Regions from separate parts of the Homo sapiens genome. Here regions 2, 3 and 4 are each linked to region 1. Evidence: promoter capture Hi-C in 16 types of primary human blood cells and fetal thymus (Javierre and others, 2016). All regions are on one chromosome and are shown on one strand. The core of a region is centred on a gene start or on the middle of the fragment in contact, and the rest is flanking DNA. Distances in the headings are between cores, read along the strand shown.

Evidence for each region. Contacts are between HindIII fragments. The CHiCAGO score rates a contact against its expected background, and 5 or more counts as called.
Region 2: a contact is called between a fragment that was not itself captured here and the fragment with the promoter of PURB in region 1, in 6 of 17 cell types (monocytes, total B cells, non-activated CD4 T cells and 3 more). The highest score is 10.7, in monocytes.
Region 3: a fragment that was not itself captured here is called in contact with the fragment with the promoter of PURB in region 1 in 17 of 17 cell types (total CD8 T cells, naive CD4 T cells, naive B cells and 14 more); the score reaches 30.1 in total CD8 T cells.
Region 4: a fragment that was not itself captured here is called in contact with the fragment with the promoter of PURB in region 1 in 7 of 17 cell types (monocytes, total CD8 T cells, fetal thymus and 4 more); the score reaches 9.8 in monocytes.

The regions. Positions count from the first base shown.
Region 1 is chr7:44,883,734-44,888,262 of GRCh38, reverse strand. PURB (purine rich element binding protein B) reads left to right here and starts at 2,733. Exons shown (of 1, transcript NM_033224.5): 1 at 2,733-4,529. The coding sequence starts at 2,915. The coding sequence ends at 3,853. RefSeq lists enhancers at 607-706, 2,304-2,553, 2,702-3,661 and silencers at 2,544-2,903, 3,194-3,243. The HindIII fragment of the contact is 4,558 bases long and covers 1-3,783 here.
Region 2 is chr7:44,556,048-44,560,576 of GRCh38, reverse strand. No RefSeq gene overlaps it. Among named protein-coding and RNA genes, the nearest start is that of DDX56, 16 kb to the left of the region's middle. The HindIII fragment of the contact is 4,749 bases long and covers 1-4,429 here.
Region 3 is chr7:44,583,150-44,587,678 of GRCh38, reverse strand. No RefSeq gene overlaps it. Among named protein-coding and RNA genes, the nearest start is that of TMED4, 3.2 kb to the right of the region's middle. The HindIII fragment of the contact is 1,147 bases long and covers 1,657-2,803 here.
Region 4 is chr7:44,621,064-44,625,592 of GRCh38, reverse strand. It overlaps OGDH (oxoglutarate dehydrogenase), which reads right to left. Exons shown (of 23, transcript NM_002541.4): 2 at 1,028-1,276. The coding sequence starts at 1,249. Among named protein-coding and RNA genes, the nearest start is that of OGDH, 17 kb to the right of the region's middle. RefSeq lists a silencer at 1,411-1,470 and an enhancer at 2,629-2,938. The HindIII fragment of the contact is 5,130 bases long and covers 1-4,529 here.

The sequences.
Region 1 (4,529 bases), core at 1,484-3,983:
AACAGAGAGATAGTCCTTTTCATGAACTGAATGTTGGTGTCCTCTATGTAGGGAAGTTGCATTAGAGAGGAGAAATCAGAAAGTTGGTTAGCAAGAAACCAGAGAAGGAGCTGGGTGGACATCTTTCACAAAGGTCAAGTGATGCCTGACATTGCATTCCTTCCTTAGGGATTTTAATGTCTCAATCCTCTCCAAGGATTGAATTGTTCACGACCCAAAATTTGGTATCTTCCTCTGAACTCTCCTTCTTCTAGGAAACTGATGTCAAATCCACCCTACCTGCTGGCAGCTCCCACACCTAATTACTACTGACCCATGTGGATGCACCCGAATTCACATTTATTGAGCACTCACTGTAATTCAGGCATTACGCTAAACATGTTTCAAGGATTACTGCCCAACAACCCTACAAGGTATTTTTTTTTTTAGTGCAGTTGTCCCCAACATCCTCTTTGATTCGTGTCTTTTCAAAATAATAATAATTACTTTATTGGGGTCTAATTTCTCTATAATAAACTACATTTGAATGAGTTTTGGCAAATCTGTGAAATCACTACCATAAACAAGACACAGAATACATCACCCTTAAAAGTTTCCTTGTATTACCCTTTCCAATCTGTCCCTCCATATTCAGGCCCAGGCAACTACTGATTTGCTCTCTGACACACACACACACAGACACATACACACACACCTTCCTCTTTCATATACTTTTATATAAATGGGGTCATACAAACTGTGTGATCATACTTTCACTTCCCTCGGGTAAATACCTAGAAGTGGAGGCTGGCTGCGGTGGGTCACGCCTGTAATCCTAGCACTTTGGGAGGCCGAGGTGGGTGGATTGCCTGAGCTCAGGTGTTCGAGACCAGCCTGAGCAACACGGTGAAACCCTATCTCTACTAAAATACAAAAAATGAGCTGGGTATGGCTATAGTCCCAGCTACTTAGGAGGCTGAAGCAGGAGAATTGCTTGAACCCAGGAGGCAGAGGTTGCAGTGAGCCAAGATTGTTCCACTGCACCCCAACCTGGGCAACAGAGCAAGACTGCTCAAAAAAAAAAAAAAAGTGGAAATGTTGGGTCTTATTTTATGAAAGGTATATAAGAAACTGCCAAACTGTTTCCCAAAGCATTTATACCATTTTATATCCTTACTAGCAATGTATGAGTTCCAGTTTCTTCACATCCTTCTCAACACTTGATGTTACATTTTTTAATTTTAGCCATTCTAGTTGGTATTTCATTCTGACTTTAATTTATATTTCCCTAATGATGAATAATGTTGAGCACTGTTTCATGTGCTTACTGGCTTTTTTGACGAAGTGTCTGTTAAAATCTTTCACCTTTTATATTGGGTTATCTATTATTTGTGTTCTTTACAAGTCCATTGTTGGATTCACTATCTATGAATAACTACATTTAGGCTGGGTGTGGTGGCTCACATCTGTAATCCCAGCACTTTGGGAGGCTGAGGCGGGCAGATCACCTGAGGTCAGGAGTTCAAGACCAGCCTGGCCAACATTGTGGAACCCCATCTCTACTAAAAATACAAAAATTAGCCGGGTGTGGTGGCGGTTGCCTGTAATCCCAGCTACTCAGGAGGCTGAGGTAGGAGAATTGCTTGAACCCGGGAGGTGGAGGGTGTAATGAGCTAAAATCACGCCACTGCACTCCAGCCTGGGTGACAGAGCAAGACTCAAAAAAAAAAAAAAAAAAATTTAAGGATGAGGACATTTTGGCTTTGGAAAATCAAGTAACTGGTCAAGGTCACAGATTCAAACCCAGTGCAGTTGCAGAGCCTACACTTTTTAACACTATTCCAATTCTGCCTCTTGTTACACCTCAATGCTTACAACAAAAAGACCTCATAGGAATTATTCATTTTATTGATAAAGAAACTAAAGATTGGCAGTCAATTTCCTTAACCACTTTAATATGGCTAACTGTGGGGACAGTTAACTGATCTCTGGATCCCAAATCTAACCTCATCCTAAATCATCTTCTTTCTATATTGTTCCCACAGTGATCTTTCCAAAATGTGAACCTGATCACATACGGTGGCTCCAGACTCTGGGGTAGGCACTAACTCTCCCGCACTGCAAATGGCTTTCCTTGATCTAATCCACCCTCCAGTGTCATCTACGACCATTCTTCAGGCATACACACCCCCAGCTGCTCTGAGCTCCCAGCATCAGGCCCTGGGTGCCTCTGCACTGCCGTCTCCTATGCTGGGTGGCTCTTCTCCAGAGTTGCCAGGCCAACTGCAGTTTGCCCTTCAGAGTCAGCTCATGCCTCCTCTAGGGAACCCCACAGGCTGGTCAGAACCCGCTTCCGAGTGCTCCAAAGGATCTCCCTCCCCCCGGTCGCCAGTGTATAGACTGGAACTCTGTTCCCAGCACACAACCAGCGCGAGCAGGCTGGGGCCTGAGTATGCTCAGCTAACGCCCCGGAAGCGAGAAGGAGGGAAGTGGACGACACCGGAGTCTAAAGTAAAAGTGTCACGGGAAGAGGCGCGTAGACAGACGCAGCGGGCGGCTGAGTCACGCTAAGGCTGGCAAGTCCCCAGGGCTAGAAACCGAGCAGTAACACTAGCCTACTCTCAGCTTGCCGCCCGCCCGGCGCGGCCCCTGACGTCACCCCTCTGCGCCACGCCGCCGCGGCGCTTCCGGCCGCGAGGCCGCGGAGGGCGGGACGGAGTGACTTCACGGGAAATCGCGCGCCGGAAGTGGCTAGGGCTGCACGGAAGTCGCGGGGGCGGGGCGCGGAGGCGATGGGGGGGCGGCGGCGGCCGGCGATGAGCGGCGGGAGCGCGTGAGCGAGCCGGGCGGGCGAGGCTGGGGGGCCCCGGAGCGCGAGCCGGAGGGCGGGGGCGCGAGCGCGGCGGGCGGTGGCGGCGAGGCGGCGGCCTAGAAGATGGCGGACGGCGACAGCGGCAGCGAGCGCGGCGGCGGCGGTGGGCCGTGCGGGTTCCAGCCCGCGTCCCGCGGCGGCGGCGAGCAAGAGACGCAGGAGCTGGCCTCGAAGCGGCTGGACATCCAGAACAAGCGCTTCTACTTAGATGTGAAGCAGAACGCCAAGGGCCGCTTCCTCAAGATCGCCGAGGTGGGCGCGGGCGGTTCCAAGAGCCGCCTCACGCTGTCCATGGCGGTGGCCGCCGAGTTCCGCGACTCGCTGGGCGACTTCATAGAACACTACGCGCAGCTGGGCCCTAGCAGCCCCGAGCAGCTGGCGGCTGGCGCCGAGGAGGGCGGCGGGCCGCGGCGCGCGCTCAAGAGCGAATTCTTGGTGCGTGAGAACCGCAAGTACTACCTGGACCTCAAGGAGAACCAGCGCGGCCGCTTCCTGCGCATCCGCCAAACGGTCAACCGCGGCGGTGGCGGCTTCGGCGCGGGCCCCGGGCCGGGCGGCTTGCAGAGCGGCCAGACCATCGCGCTGCCTGCGCAGGGCCTCATCGAGTTCCGCGACGCGCTGGCGAAGCTCATAGACGACTACGGAGGCGAGGACGACGAGCTGGCAGGCGGCCCGGGAGGCGGCGCCGGGGGCCCAGGGGGCGGCCTGTATGGAGAGCTCCCGGAGGGCACCTCCATCACCGTGGACTCCAAGCGCTTCTTCTTCGATGTGGGCTGCAACAAATACGGGGTGTTTCTGCGAGTGAGCGAGGTGAAGCCGTCCTACCGCAATGCCATCACCGTACCCTTCAAAGCCTGGGGCAAGTTCGGAGGCGCCTTTTGCCGGTATGCGGATGAGATGAAAGAAATCCAGGAACGACAGAGGGATAAGCTTTATGAGCGACGTGGTGGGGGCAGCGGCGGCGGCGAAGAGTCAGAGGGTGAGGAGGTGGATGAGGATTGAAACGGGCAGCTTCCCCTACAGGCCTCCACCCAACCACCATCCCCTTGGCTAGAGAATTCCCTTTCCTGCTCATCCCCAGTGAGCTAGTGGAGAGGGAGCAAGGGAGGCCGCAGAGGGAAAAAACAAAACGTAACACAGTTAAGAGAAATAATCGTAAGAGAACAGTGACGGACAACTTGAGAAAAGCAGTCAAGTTCCAAGGAACTGACAGCAACCTGCAAAGAGGAAAACAGCATCTCCTCACCTGCGTAAAATTGTCTCAGCTTCTGTTGTTTCTCAACTGAGGTTCGTAAACCCATCAGGATAATCCCTGGAGGGAATAGATCCTTGCACATCCAGGGCAAGAAACATGTCCAAGTTACCCAGACCATTGATAACAGTTGCATTTAGGTTGCACCTGGGTAATCTGGCATAAAAGATCTCTCTAGGCCTCACTGTTGCGGTGTCTATCCCTTCACCTCCATTGAAATCAGCATTTTGGATCTAGGTCTTCATGGAATCCTTGAGAAGAGAGGCCTTTACAATTACCCAGTTCTGAGGGTTCAGGTTCACGAAAAGAAATGCAACTTGGGATAATCATGAACAGGTTAAAGATAAGATTTCAAGAAGCCATCTAAGAATACAGAACCAAATTGGATCCATTTTTTTAAAAAAATGGTTTTGCATGGAACCTGGA
Region 2 (4,529 bases), core at 806-3,305, 330 kb after region 1:
TCTCATGGCCCCTTTTGTTCCCCACAGCTCACTGTACAACTTGTTGGTTCAAGGTTAGAAAATGCAGTTTTGTGTTGAGGGGGACCATCACAGAAGACAAAGGGTCCAGGATGAAGGCTACCCATCAGCTTGCAGGGCTGGGACGAATGTGAGAAGCAACTGATGCTTGTACAGTAGAGAGTAAGCATGTAGGGCCAGTCCCCAGACCTTGCCTCCCCTCAGCCTTGACATGTGATCTCCATTTCTGGTGGCTACCCCTGCTAGTGGTCTGGCTTCACCATCTTAGCCCTGCCCAGGCTAAGACCCTCTTCCATCAGAACCTGCAGCTGGGATGCTGGGAGCAACAGTCAGGGCAGAGCTGCCCATCCTCCCATTCAGGGAGCCCTCAGGAAGTACTTGGGACCCCCCGACCCTTTATAGATTCAGCCTGCCTCATCCCCTCCATGGACCAACACGCCCTTCTCCTCAGCAGTGGGCTGGGGGACCAGGCTCCTGAACTGCTTGTGGCTGTTCCAGCAGTGGGGAGATGGAGGGTCACACAGTCCTGAGTCTATGGCTTTGACAGCAACGGGTCCTGACTGCAGCTGTATTCGTGAAGCGAAGTACCTAATACAATCACCGAAATGTACAAATTGGACCCCTATAGGTTCAAGGATTCTTGGTGTAGGAGGTATGGCCCCCGCCCCGGGAACCAGGACCTCAGCTTTTAGAAGCAAAATGCATGAATGCAGTGATGGTTAGGCCAAGTGCCAAGGGAGACAGCCAACCCCTGCTATCATGGCCAGAGGAGGGAGAGACCACTCAGGCCTGGGTGGTGGTAGAAATCCTCACTGCCAAGGAGATTGTATGCGCAGGCGTTGGGAAGGCCCGGAGAAGCCTGAGAGACAGGCTTGGCTTGGTTATAGCAGAGCTGGGTGGAGGGAGCAGATTAGTTGGCTTAGCACAGGCTTCCTGCAGGGTGGTGGTTCTTGGCCAGATTTGCCCCAGTGGGGCTTTTGGGAAAGTATAGAAATATTGTTGTTTTTTTTTTTTTGAGACAGAGTCTTGCTCCGTTGCCCAGGCTGGAGTGCAGTGGTGTGTTCTTGGCTCACTACAACCTCCATCCACCTCCCGGGTTCAAGTGATTCTCCTGCCTCAGCCTGCCAAGTAGTTGGGACTACAGGCATGTGCCACCACACCCAGCTAATCTTTGTATTTTTAGGAGATGGGGTTTCACCATGTTGGCCAGGCTGGTCATGAACTCCTAACCTCAAGTGATCTGCCCGCCTCAGCCTCCCAAAGTGCTGGGATTACAGGTGTGAGCCACTGTGCCAGCCAAGAAACATTTTAGGTTATCATATCTGGGCAATGGATGCTACTGGCTTTAGGTGGGAAGAGGCCGGGGATACTGTTAAAATCATGCAATGTACAAGGCAGCCCCCACAAGAGAGTTCTGTGGTTGAAAATGTCCGTAGTGTTGAGGTTGAGGACTCTGCTGTGGGGCAACAGTAGGAGAAGGGGTGCTAATAGTCAGGTGGTGGACAGCAGGGAATTACAGGTACATCAGTTAGGAGTGTATACAGCTGCAAGTAAGAGACCACCAGATGGCAGGAACAGTGGGAACAGAATGGTTTATCTTTTTCATGTGTCAAGATAAGTGGTGCTAAAGTCAGGCATGGTGGCCCTCACTTATAATCCCAGCAATTCAGGAGGCTGAAGAGTGAGGATCACTTGAGGCCAGGAGTTCAAGACCAGCCTGGGCAACACAGTGAAATGCCATCTCTAAAAATAAAAATTAAAAAAATTAGCCAGGGGCTGGGTGCAGTGGCTCACGCCTGTAATCCCAGCACTTTGGGAGGCTAAGGCGGGTGGATCACCTGAGGTCAGGAGTTCGAGACCAGCCTGGCCAACATGGTGAAACCCTGTCTCTACTAAAAATATAAAATTAGCTGGGCATGGTGGCACACCTGTAATTCTACTTACTCGGGAGGCTGAGGCAAGGGAATCACTTAGAACTGGGGAGGCGTAAGTTGCAGTGAGCTGAGTCACGCCATTGCACTCCAGCCTGGGCGACAGATCAAGACCCTGTCAAGGAAAGGAAAGGAGAGGGGAGGGGAGGGGAGGGGGGAGGGGGGAGGGGGGAGGAGAAGGAGGGAGGGGGAAGATTAGCTAGGCATGGTGATGAGCACCTGTAGTCCCTCCTAGCTACTCCGAAGGCTACGGTGGGAGAACTGCTTGAGCCTGGGAGGTCAAGGCTGCAGTTAGTGATGATCGTGTCACTGCACTCCAGCCTGGGTGAAAAAGTGAGACCCTGTCTCAAAAAGAAAAAAGACAGATAGGAAGAAAGAAAGAAGAAAAGAAAGAAAAAGAGAGAGAGAGAGAGAGGGAGGGAGGGAGGGAAAGGAAAGGAAGGAAGGAAATGCATCTGATTTTTGTGTATTGATTTTGTATCCTATAATTTTGCCAAGTTCATTTATTAGTTCTAGTAATTTTTTTTATTAAAAAAAATTTTCAAGATAGGGTCTCACCCTGTTGTCTAGGCTGGAGTGCAGTGGCACGGTTATAGCTCACTGCAGTCTCCATTGCCAGGACTCAAACAGTCCTCCTGCCTCAGCCTCCTGAATAGCTGGGACTACAGGCATGCCAGCATGCCTGGCTAATTATTTTATTTTTTGTAGAGATGGGGTCTCACGTTGTTGCCCAGGCTGGTCTTAAACTCCTGGGCTCAAGTGATTGTCCTGCCTCAGTCTCCCAAAGTGCTGGGATTATAGGCATGCTCCACCACACTCAGACAAGTTATAATACATTTTCAGTGGCGTATTTACTGTTTTAGAATATAAAATCTATCTGCAAATAGAGATAAGTTTAATTTTTTTCTAATTTGGACACTCTTTTCCTTCCTCCCTCCCCTTCCCCTTTCCCTTCCCCTTCCCTTTTCCCTCCCTCCCTCTCTCCCTCTCTTTCTCTCTCTCTCTTTCTCTCTTTTCTCTTTTCTTTTCATTTCATTTTTGCCAAATTGCTCTGGTTAGAACTTTTAACACTATGTTGAATAGAAGTGGTGACAGTATCTCATTCCTAGACACTTTTCGAAAGAAGACATACATGCAACCAACAAACATTTGAAAAAAAACTCAATATCACTGATCATTAAAGAAACAGAAATCAAAACCACAATGAGATACCATCTCACATCAGCCAGAATGGCTATTATTAAAAAGTAAAAAAAAGAAAAAATAACATGCTGGCAAGGTCATAGAGAAAAGGGAACACTTGTACAGTGTTGGTGGGAGTGTAAATTAGGTCAACCATTGTGGAAAGCAGCGTGGCAATTCCTCAGAGACCTAAAGGCAGAACTACCATTCGACCCAGCAATCCCATTACTGGGTATATACCCAAAGGAATGTAAGTTGTTCTGCCATAAGGACACATGCACACGTCTGTTCATTGCAGCACTATTCACAATAGTAAAGACATGGAATCAACCTAAATGCCCATCAATGACAGATTGGATAAAGAAAATGTACATATATGTCATGGAATACTATTCAGACATAAAAAAAGACATGTGATTATGTCCTTTGCAGGAACATGGATGGAGCTGGAGGCCATTATCCTTAGCAAACTAACGCAGGAACAGAAAACAAAATACCACATATTCTCACTTATATTCTCTCACTAAATGATGAGAACTCATAGGCACTAAGAGGGGAACGACAGATGCTGGAACCCAGTGGAGGGTGGGAGGAGGGAGAGGAGCAGGAAAAATAACTATTGGGTACTAGACTTAGTACCTGGGCGAGAAAATAATCTGTACAACAAACCCCCGTGACACAAGTTTACCTATATAACAAACCTGCATATGTACAACTTAATGTAAAATAAAAGTTAAAAAACAAGGCCAGGCATGGTAGCTCATGCCTGTAATCCCAGCCTTTTGGGAGGCCGAGGTGGGCGGATCACTTGAGGTCAGGAGTTTGAGACCAGCCTGCCCAACTTGGTGAAACCCTGTCTCTACCAAAAAAGGAAAAAAAAAAAAAAAGCCAGGTGTGGTGGTCCATGCCTGTAATCCCAGCTACTCAGGAGGCTGAGGCAGGAGAATTGCTTGAACTTGGGAGGCAGAGTTTGCAGTAGGCTGAGATCGCTCCACTGCACTCCAGTTTGGGTGACAAAGCGAGACTCTGTCTCAAAAAAACAAAAAACAAAGTTAAAAAACAAAACATCGGACACCACACACCACATGGCAGGATCCAGGATCCAATCAGATCAAGCTCTGGCATCACCCCACGGCAGGATCCAGTCAGATATTACCTTCCAGCATCACCTCATTGTGAGATCCAATTAGATCATGCCTCATTATTACCCTGTGCTTATAAAACCCAACCCAACCCCTAGCTCAGGAAAAGAGATTGAGCATTCCCTCCTTCCTTGCCAGTTGACTTTAAATAAAGCTTTTCTTATCTCAAAATATAAAAAAGAAAGTATCTCCCCTGGGCATGGTGGGCTCGTGCCGGTAATCCCAGCACTCTGAGAGGCAGAAGTGGGCAGATCAA
Region 3 (4,529 bases), core at 981-3,480, 300 kb after region 1:
CTGGTCCCCCATTATGTCCACTATACTCTCTTTTTTTTTTTTTTTTTTAAGATGGAGTCTCGCTGTGTCGCCCAGGCTGGAGCGCAGTGGCGCGATCTTGGCTTCCTGCAAGCCCACCTCCCAGGTTCACGCCATTCTCCTGCCTCAGCCTCCCGAGTAGCTGGGACTACAGACACCCGCCACCACGCCCAGCTAATTTTTTTGTATTTTTTTAGTAGAGACGGGGTTTCACCATGTTAGCTAGGATGGTCTTGATCTCCTGACCTCGTGATCCCCCTGCCTCAGCCTCCCAAAGTGTCGGGATTACAGGCGTGAGCCACTGCGCCTGGCCTAAGTCCACTATACTTTCTTCTTCCCTGCCTTATTTTTATTCTTGATACTTATCTCCATCTGACATGCTCTATATTTCTTTATTTATCTTGTTTGGCAGACGACAATCAAGATAAAGCCATGGAGACAAGGATTTTTGTTGCTGTTGTTCTTGTTTTTTGAGACAGAGCCTCACTCTCACCCAGGCCTAGAGTGCAGTGGCACAATCTCGGTTCACTGCAACCTCTGCCTCCCAGGCTGAAGTGATCCTCCCACCTCAGCCTCCAGAGAAGCTGGGACTACAGGTGCTTGCCACATGCCTGGCTAATTTTTTGTATTTTTGGTAGAGACGGGGTTTTGCCATGTTGTCCAGGCTAGTCTTGAACTTCTGAGTTCAGATGATCCACCCAAAGTGCTGGGATTACATGCGTGAGCCACTGCGCCTGGCCTAGACAAGGATTTTTGTTTTGGTCACCTGTGTTTTCCCATTAGAACAGTGGCTGGCACAAATGGCTGCACAGCACATACTGGTTGAACAAATGAAGGACGGGGTGGCTGGTCTAGACAAAGAGCCTAGACAAACATCGGCAGAAATTGCTTCATGGCTTCTGAGCAGAAAAATCTCTCATCTGGGGAATTAGACTCCCTAAGTTAAATTTTCTTTCTTTTTTGGAGATGGGGTCTCACTCTGTTGCCCAGGCTGGAGTGCAGCAGCACCATCACAGCTCACTGCAGCCTCAACCTCCTGGGGGTCAAGCAATCCTCCCACCTCAGCCTCCCGAGTAGTTGGGACTACAGGCCCATGCCACCATGCCCAGCTAATTTTTTTTTTGGTAGAGACAGGGTGTCACCATGTAGCCCAGACTGGTCTTGAACTTCTGGACTCAAGCGATCTTCCTGCCTCGGCCTCCCAAATGCTGGGATTACAGGCATGAGCCACAGTGCCTCACCTCCTAAGTTAAATTTTCTGCAGTGGAGAATACAATCTCTTTAATATTATCTCTCAGTTAAGACAAATTTCAGGATCCTCCTTAAAAAAAAAAAAAAAAAGAAAGAAAATAAGTTTGCCAATACAAATACCATTTCTCACTAAAGTGAATTAGGGTTCCTTGGAGAAATGGTTGGTTTTGTTTCTGGGCAGTAAATGTATAAAACGGAAAGCAAGGAAGTCCAGGGTGTCCAATCTTTTGGCTTTCCTGGGCCACACTGGAAGAAGAAGAATTGTCTTGGGCCACACATAAAATACACTAACAATAGCTGATGAGCTAAAAAAAAAAAAATCTCATAATGTTTTTAGAAAGTTTATGAATTTGTGTTGGGCTGCATGGGCCACAGGTTGGACAAGCTTGACCTAAAGACTACTAGGATTGTGGATTACTAGGATTGTGCCAGAAGGACACAGCAGCAACTAAATATTTGATGAGACAATCTGAACATTTAAAAAAGGACAATGACTGTAATGGATTAAAGCACATCAAATATCTAAACATCCATCAATTCATGATAGCACTGCCCCTTCTCCCCAAAGAACCCAAAGTGGTCACAGTTAGAGGTTGCTGGGGCATCCATCCATCCATCTTTATTATTATTACTATTATTTGAGACAAGGTCTCACTCAGTCACCCATGCTAGAGTGCTGTCGTCCCATCACGGCTCACTGTATCCTCAACCTCCTGGGCTCCAGCCATTTCCCTGCCTCAGCCTCCTAAGTAGCGGGAATTACAGGCATGCATCACCATGCCTGTCTAATTTTTACATATTTTGTAAAGATCTTGCCATTTCCTGGGCTCAAGCAGTCCTCCTGTCTTGGCCCCCCAAAGTGCTGGGATTATAGGCAGAGCCACTGTGCGTGGGAAAGCATCAAGCATACATCCTGGCTATCCCGAATGGATTGTATTTCAAAGTAACCAGAGAGATGAGGGAATGCTCACCTTTGTAGAAGAATCTCATCTTATAAATGCAGGAGAAATGAGAGCATTTGAAATTACCACTTTGCACACCTAAGGAACATCATAAAACTACACTAGGGTTTCTCAACCTGGGTACTACTGACATTTTGAGCTGGATAATTCTTCGCTGTGGGGGGGAGGTGTGCTCTGTGAATTATACAATGTTTAGCAGTATTCCTTGCATTCATTTTCTAGATAACAGCAGTACCACCCGCCACCCCCCACCCAGTTGCAACAATCCAAAATATCTCCAGACATTGCCAAATTTCCCCTTGGTAGGACAGGGCAGAATCAACCCTCGTTGAGAACCAATGGTCTAATGATCATCAACGTTTGCTAGACTATTAGAAGAAAGGCTGATGGTAAACTTCATGGATAATCAGGATGACAACCCCCAAATTGAGAGATGAATTACAATATTACTAAGAGACAAACCCGCCTTGTGCCTCAGTAGAAGTACATAGTGCCAGCCACGAAGCGTTATTGCAAACAAAACAAAACAAAAAAACCCAAACCTCAACATTACACCTAAACCTAATGAAGCTTCTAGCCAGGGGCAAATCCAAGCTTTGTGGGGCCTTAAACTATACAAATTTCACAGTCCTCTTTAAGAAAAAGACACAAAATTATAAATGCGAAATTAGGTACGGGGGTCTATGCAAGGGAGGGCCTGAAGATTAAGCTTCATTAGTTTCACTGTAAACCTCCCCTGACTCTAGAATTAACTGTGATTACAGGACATACCAGGGACAAAAAACGTTAAATGACACCTGAAGATACAATCAGCAAAACCCAGAAAGTGGAAAATTCTGTTGGTCAAATGACCCAGTTTCTTCAATAAGTAAATGCCATGAATAACAAACAACAAAAAGAGAGGGGAAATTTATATATATAATATATATATAATATGTATAATATATATATATGTTGTTATATGGTTTGTTTTTTTTTTTTTGGACACGAGTCTCTCTCTCACCCAGGCTGGAGTGCAGTGGCATGATCTCGGCTCACTGCAACCTCTGCCTCCTGGGTTCAAGCGATTCTTCTGCCTCAGTCTCCCAAGTAGCTGGGACTACAGGTGAGCACCACCACACCCAGCTAATTTTTGTATTTTTGGTAGAGGTAGGGTTTCACCATATTGGCCAGGCTGGTCTCGAACTCCTGACCTCGTGATCTGCCCACCTTGGCCTCCCAAAGTGCTGGGATTACAGGTGTGAGCCACTGCGCCCGGCCCTGTTTTTGTTTGTTTTGAGATAGAATCTCACTCTGTTGCCTAGGCTGGAGTACAGTGGCATCATCTCAGCCCACTGCAACCTCCACCTCCCTGATTCTAGCAATTCTCCTGCCTCAGCCTCCCAAGTAGCTGAGATTACAGGTGTGCACCACCACACCTGGCTAATTTTTGTATTTTTAGTAGAAACAGGGTTTCACCATGTTGGCCAGGCTGGTCTCAAACTCCTGACCTCAAGTGATCCTTCCACCTCAGCCTCCCAAAGTGCTGGGATTACAGGCATGAGCCACTGTGCCCAGCCAAAATTGTTATATATTAAGAGACATATATTTGTATGAAATGCAGTAAGTAAACCTTGTTTGGACCCTAAATATCTAATGTACAAAATTTTTTAAGGCAATGGGGAAAATTAAACACATACTAGGTATTAAGTGATGTTAAATAATTTTTAAAATTTTGGTGGGTGTGATAATAGTATAAAGTCCTTATCTGTTAGAGACACACACTGACGTATTTATAGGTGAAATGACATGATGTCCAGGATTTGCTTTAATATACAGCACTTCAAAAAAAAATGCAGAAAGGGATACATGAAATGAGAAAGGCAGCAAACTGTTGTTGAAGTTGGATGATGAGTACAGCCCTCCGTTATTATCCAAGGGGGATAATTCCTGGACCCCTACGGATACCAAAATCCAGGTATGCTCAAGTTCTTTATGAAAGTTCATTGTAATTATTCTATTATATAAAAGTTTCGAAATTCTGTTGATAAAATGTATTTTTAGTAGAGACGGGGGTTTCACCTTGTTGGCCCAACTGGTCTCGAATTTCTAACCTCAGATGATCCACCAGCCTTGGCCGCCCAAAGTGTTAGCATTACAGGCGTGAGCCACCGCGCCCGCCTGGCCTTGATAAAAACAGTTTTAACCTTCCGTTGCTTCGATTCCATGCCCACTAAGTAACATTCCAGTTTGTTTTTCACTTTCAAAAGGATGTGCTGTAACTAGGGGATGTAAACAAGCTCCATGACCCTACTTATT
Region 4 (4,529 bases), core at 1,133-3,632, 260 kb after region 1:
GAGCTTAGAAACGCTGGGACCTACCCTCTTATTACTATACTACACTGTCTTCCCAATTCCTTCAGGAGGCTGGCTGCTTTCCCTGAAAATCAAGGAATGGTTATCAAAACCTATAAATATTTATTGGCTCAAAACAGAATAAAGGAATTCTGTCACAAGGCATGACATGGCCAGGCGTGGTTGATCATACCTGTAATCCCAGCACTTTGGGAGGCCAAGGTGGGTGGATCACTTGAGGCCAGGGGTTCAAGACCAGCCTGGCCAACAAAGTAAAATCCCATCTCTACTAAAAATACAAAAACTAGTCAGGCGTGGTGACGTGCACCTGTAGTCCCAGTTACTCGGGAGGCTGAGGCATAAGAATCACTTGAACCCAGGAGTCGGAGGTTGCAGCAAGCCGAGATCCCGCCACTGCACTCCAGCCTGGACAACAGTGGGACTCTGTCTGAAACAAAACAAAACAAACAAAAACAAAAACAAACCAAAAAAAACAAGACATGACTTACATCAGTAATCATGTGGTGAAAAGTTTAGAAAATGCCCTTATATGTAATACAGAGAAGTTAGAAACAAACAGGAAAAAAATACGAACATAATGAGCTAAAAGGCCATTCATACAGAAATTACATGAGGTGACTACGGCATGTTACAAATGAAAGTATCCTCTCCAGACAGTTAGAATGGAGGAGCTTCCTGAGGTCCTGCTCTTTTCCACACACTTTCTTTCTTTCTTCTTTCTTCAGCGGCTTCATCCTGAAGCAGCCCTTGCGGAGATGCTGGAGGGTCACACACATGCTTCTTCACATCCTCGCAGAGTTAAGCACAGTGTCTACTGCTGGACGCCAATCCAGGGACCATGGCTTCTGCTGGGGCTATGCTGGGTCCGATACAGATACGGTGGTTGGTATGGCGCTCCAGCTGCCTGTCTGCCCGCTGACTCCTCAGGACGCACACACTTACCTGGTGACCAGTCAGGAACAGGCCAACACACCAACATGAGGCAGACCCACAGCCCTGCGAGCCTTACCTTATGTACACTTTTGGGGTTTTCCAGCCAAGCACAGTACATCTCCTCCACATAGTTCGAACTAGTCCCACTGAGAAAGGGCTCAGCAGCAACAGGTGCAGAATAGCACCGAATCTGTTGAAATGTCCTAGCTGCTGCTGGTCTGTTTTGTGAAAATGTCTTAACAGTCTGGGAAGCCGTCAATGGCCTCAACTTAGCAGCACAAGTCCTTAAATGAAACATTTTTGTCCTGAAGTTTTTCACAACTGCCTGTACAAAAAAAAAAAAAAAAAAACAAGAAAGAAAGGTTTTAAAAATGAGTATTTAGGAGACAAGGCTACTAGATCCTGATGCTCTAGAGAAAGGATAATTTTTTTTTAAAAGCTACTAGAAAAACAAAAACAAAAACAAAACATGTTCAACTCTAATTGTTGAGGAGAAAGACCCTGGCCTATAAATGTATTCACAAGAGTGCTACCTGCTCAGTGCCACCAGTTCATGTGCCTGAGAGCACAACAGAGCTGTGACTGTGTGAAACTGAAACACACTCTTGCACCTACTAACACAGGATGCCTGTGCGAGCCCAAGGAAGGTGAGTGCACAGTTGCAGATATTACCATCTTCACTTAAAAATTTAAATCTAGGCCAGACTCGGTGGCTCACACCTGTAATCCCAGCACTTTGGGAGGCCAAGGCGGGTGGATCACGAGGTCAGGAGATCAAGACCATCCTGGCCAACATGGTGAAACCACATCTCTACTAAAAATACAAAAATTAGCTGGGTGTGGTGGTGCATGCCTGTAGACCCAGATACTTGGGAGGCTGAGGCAGGAGAATTGCTTGAACCTGGTAGGTGGAGGCTGCAGTGAGCCGAGATTGCACCACTGCACTCCAGCCTAGCAACAGAGTGAGACTCTGTCTCAAAACAAAACAAAACAAAAAACCATTAAATCTAGTTTAAGGGCTAAGATGATAAACATACGATGTTCTTTAAATTTACATATTACATATATATAAAACAATTAGAAGAAAGGCAACAAGGATTAATTAATTTAGAATTAGGATTAGGATTAATTGGAGAATAAGTAAAACATTTTCTAATCTGTCCAGAAACTACTGAGTACCTGCTGTACTTACAATATTATGGAAAATACAAAGAAATTAGAAAAATACTTTCCTTACTCTCAATTTACCCTTGAGCAGAGGAAAAACAACATAGAAAAGATTGCAGAGGAAATATGAGTACTTGAGAGGTGCAGAATATGCCAGCAGACCCTGTGAGAGGATGGGCTCCTTCCAAGTGGGTGTGCCTGAAGACAAAAGGACATGGATGGGAAGGAGGGAAGACGAGGCACTGCATGTGGAAGGACCCATAGGCAGAAACACAGAGACGGGAAGAGCCAGAATCTCATGGTACTACGAAGGGTAAGGAAAAGCCACAGAGGGTTGTCCAGTGTCCTGCCTGCCACCTTCTGCACTCAGCCCCCTTTCATAAGCCATGGGGAGCCAGGTCTGAGCAAGGGAGACGTGGGTGGGGTCTGCAAAGATTGAAAAGAGCACATGGAGCAGTTGTTCAATAATGCCTGCCTACCCTGGGCCCTCCATGGTGAGCAACTCTACGCATCTGACTCATACATAAACCCAGAGGCTCCCAATAAGGCAGGCACCAGCTCTTTCACTTTACAGATAGCTTCAGTTTCTATTCCCTTACATTTCATCCAAGGTCATAGGCTACTAACAGCAGAGTCAGGATCCAAGCGGAAAGTTCACAAGGACGCTGCCTGTGGAAAAAAAGGTGCTTGCTGGCCTACATGGTTGCTCATGAATTTGTCTCAAAGCAGGTGCTCTGGTTGTAAAGTTAGAACTACACTCCATGTCCACACCTACCCGAAGAAAATCCAAGCTCTGAAACATAGTGTGAATTACCCAGAAATAACTGTTACATAAAAATATCTTCTATATTATTTATCAGAAACTTCCTCTTGGCCCAAATATGCTCAGAATACACTTAAGGGACACCAAGAGAGAGGGCTTAGAGTGTCCTGCATTCACCTCTGGCCTGCTCCACTGAGAAGAGATAGGTCAGCAAAAGTAAACAGCAGAACATATTCTTTAAAAACAAACTGAACAACAAACAAAAACTTGCTCCTTACAAATTAAAGGTAAACAAGCAATATATTCTGGATATAATTAGGGAATGCAATCTTTACCCCTGGGTTTTCACTTTAGAAATCAAAAGTTTTAAGTTAATTCGGTAGTTCTTCCTACCTCCAACTACACTCCAAGTTTTTCCACTGATATATTTAAGGAAGACAAACAGCCCTAACATTGACAGCAAAAATACTACTGTTGCTTCATTTTATGCTATTTTTTTTTTAATTTCTCAGGCTCAAAGGAAAATGTTCATTTTTTTCCTTTAATGTCATTATTAAGGCAATATTAAATACCCAATTGCCTCTGAGTTGGGTTTTCTCCCAGAAAACAATAGCATCACCTCATTAACTATCAGTATTCAGTTGCTGCAATAGCCCAATTAACAGGCACTGAACTGACAATCGTAAAACACCAATTTCATCTGTTCTTCCCAAAGTGGCCCCTTCCACATGATCCTGTTTAAGTAAATCATGACATTTTGCTATCCGCAGTCACTGAATCTGACACATAGTTAAGTGCTGCCCAGCAGAGCTGCCACAACAGCTGGAGATTTTTTTTTTTTGATACGGAGTCTTGCTCTGTAGTCCAGGCTGGAGTGCAGTGGTGTGATCTCGGCTCAGTGCAACCTCCCATCCCAGGTTCAAGCAATTCCCCTGCCTCAGCCTCCCGAGTAGCTAGGACTACAGGTGCATGCCATCACACCTGGTTAATTTTTGTATTTTTAGTAGAGACAGGGTTTCATTATGTTGGCCAGGCTGGTCTCAAACTCCTGACCTCATGATCTGCCCACCTCAGCCTCCCAAAGTGCTGGTATTACAGGCGTGAGCCACCACACCCAGCTGAGATTTTTAAACTTCCCTTAAGATGACTCACGGGAAGAGCTGCCCTTCAGCAGATGGCTCAACATCCCCAACTCCACCCAGGAACGGCCAGGACAGCTATTTGCTGTCCACACTTTGACAGAACGACAGAGCCAACACTAACGCACATTTCTAATTCTGGTAAATACCCATTCTTCACCTTTCTCTCTTACATAAAACGGCATAAGAAGATATTAAAAGCCAAGCACGGTGGCTCATGCCTATAATCCTAGCACTTTGGGGTGCCAAGGCTTAAGGATTGTTTGAGGCCAGGAGTTTGAGACCAGCCCGGGCAACATAGTGAAACCACATCTCCACAAAAAATTTAAAAGCTATCAGGGTGTGGTGGCACATGTCTGTAGTACCAGCTACCCCGGAGGCTGAGGTGGAAGGATAGCCTGAGCCCAGGAGGTCAAGGCTTCAGTAAGCTATGATCGTGCCACTCCACTCCAGCCTGGGTGACAGAGCGAGACCCTATCTCTAAAAACAAACAAACAAACAAAATATAT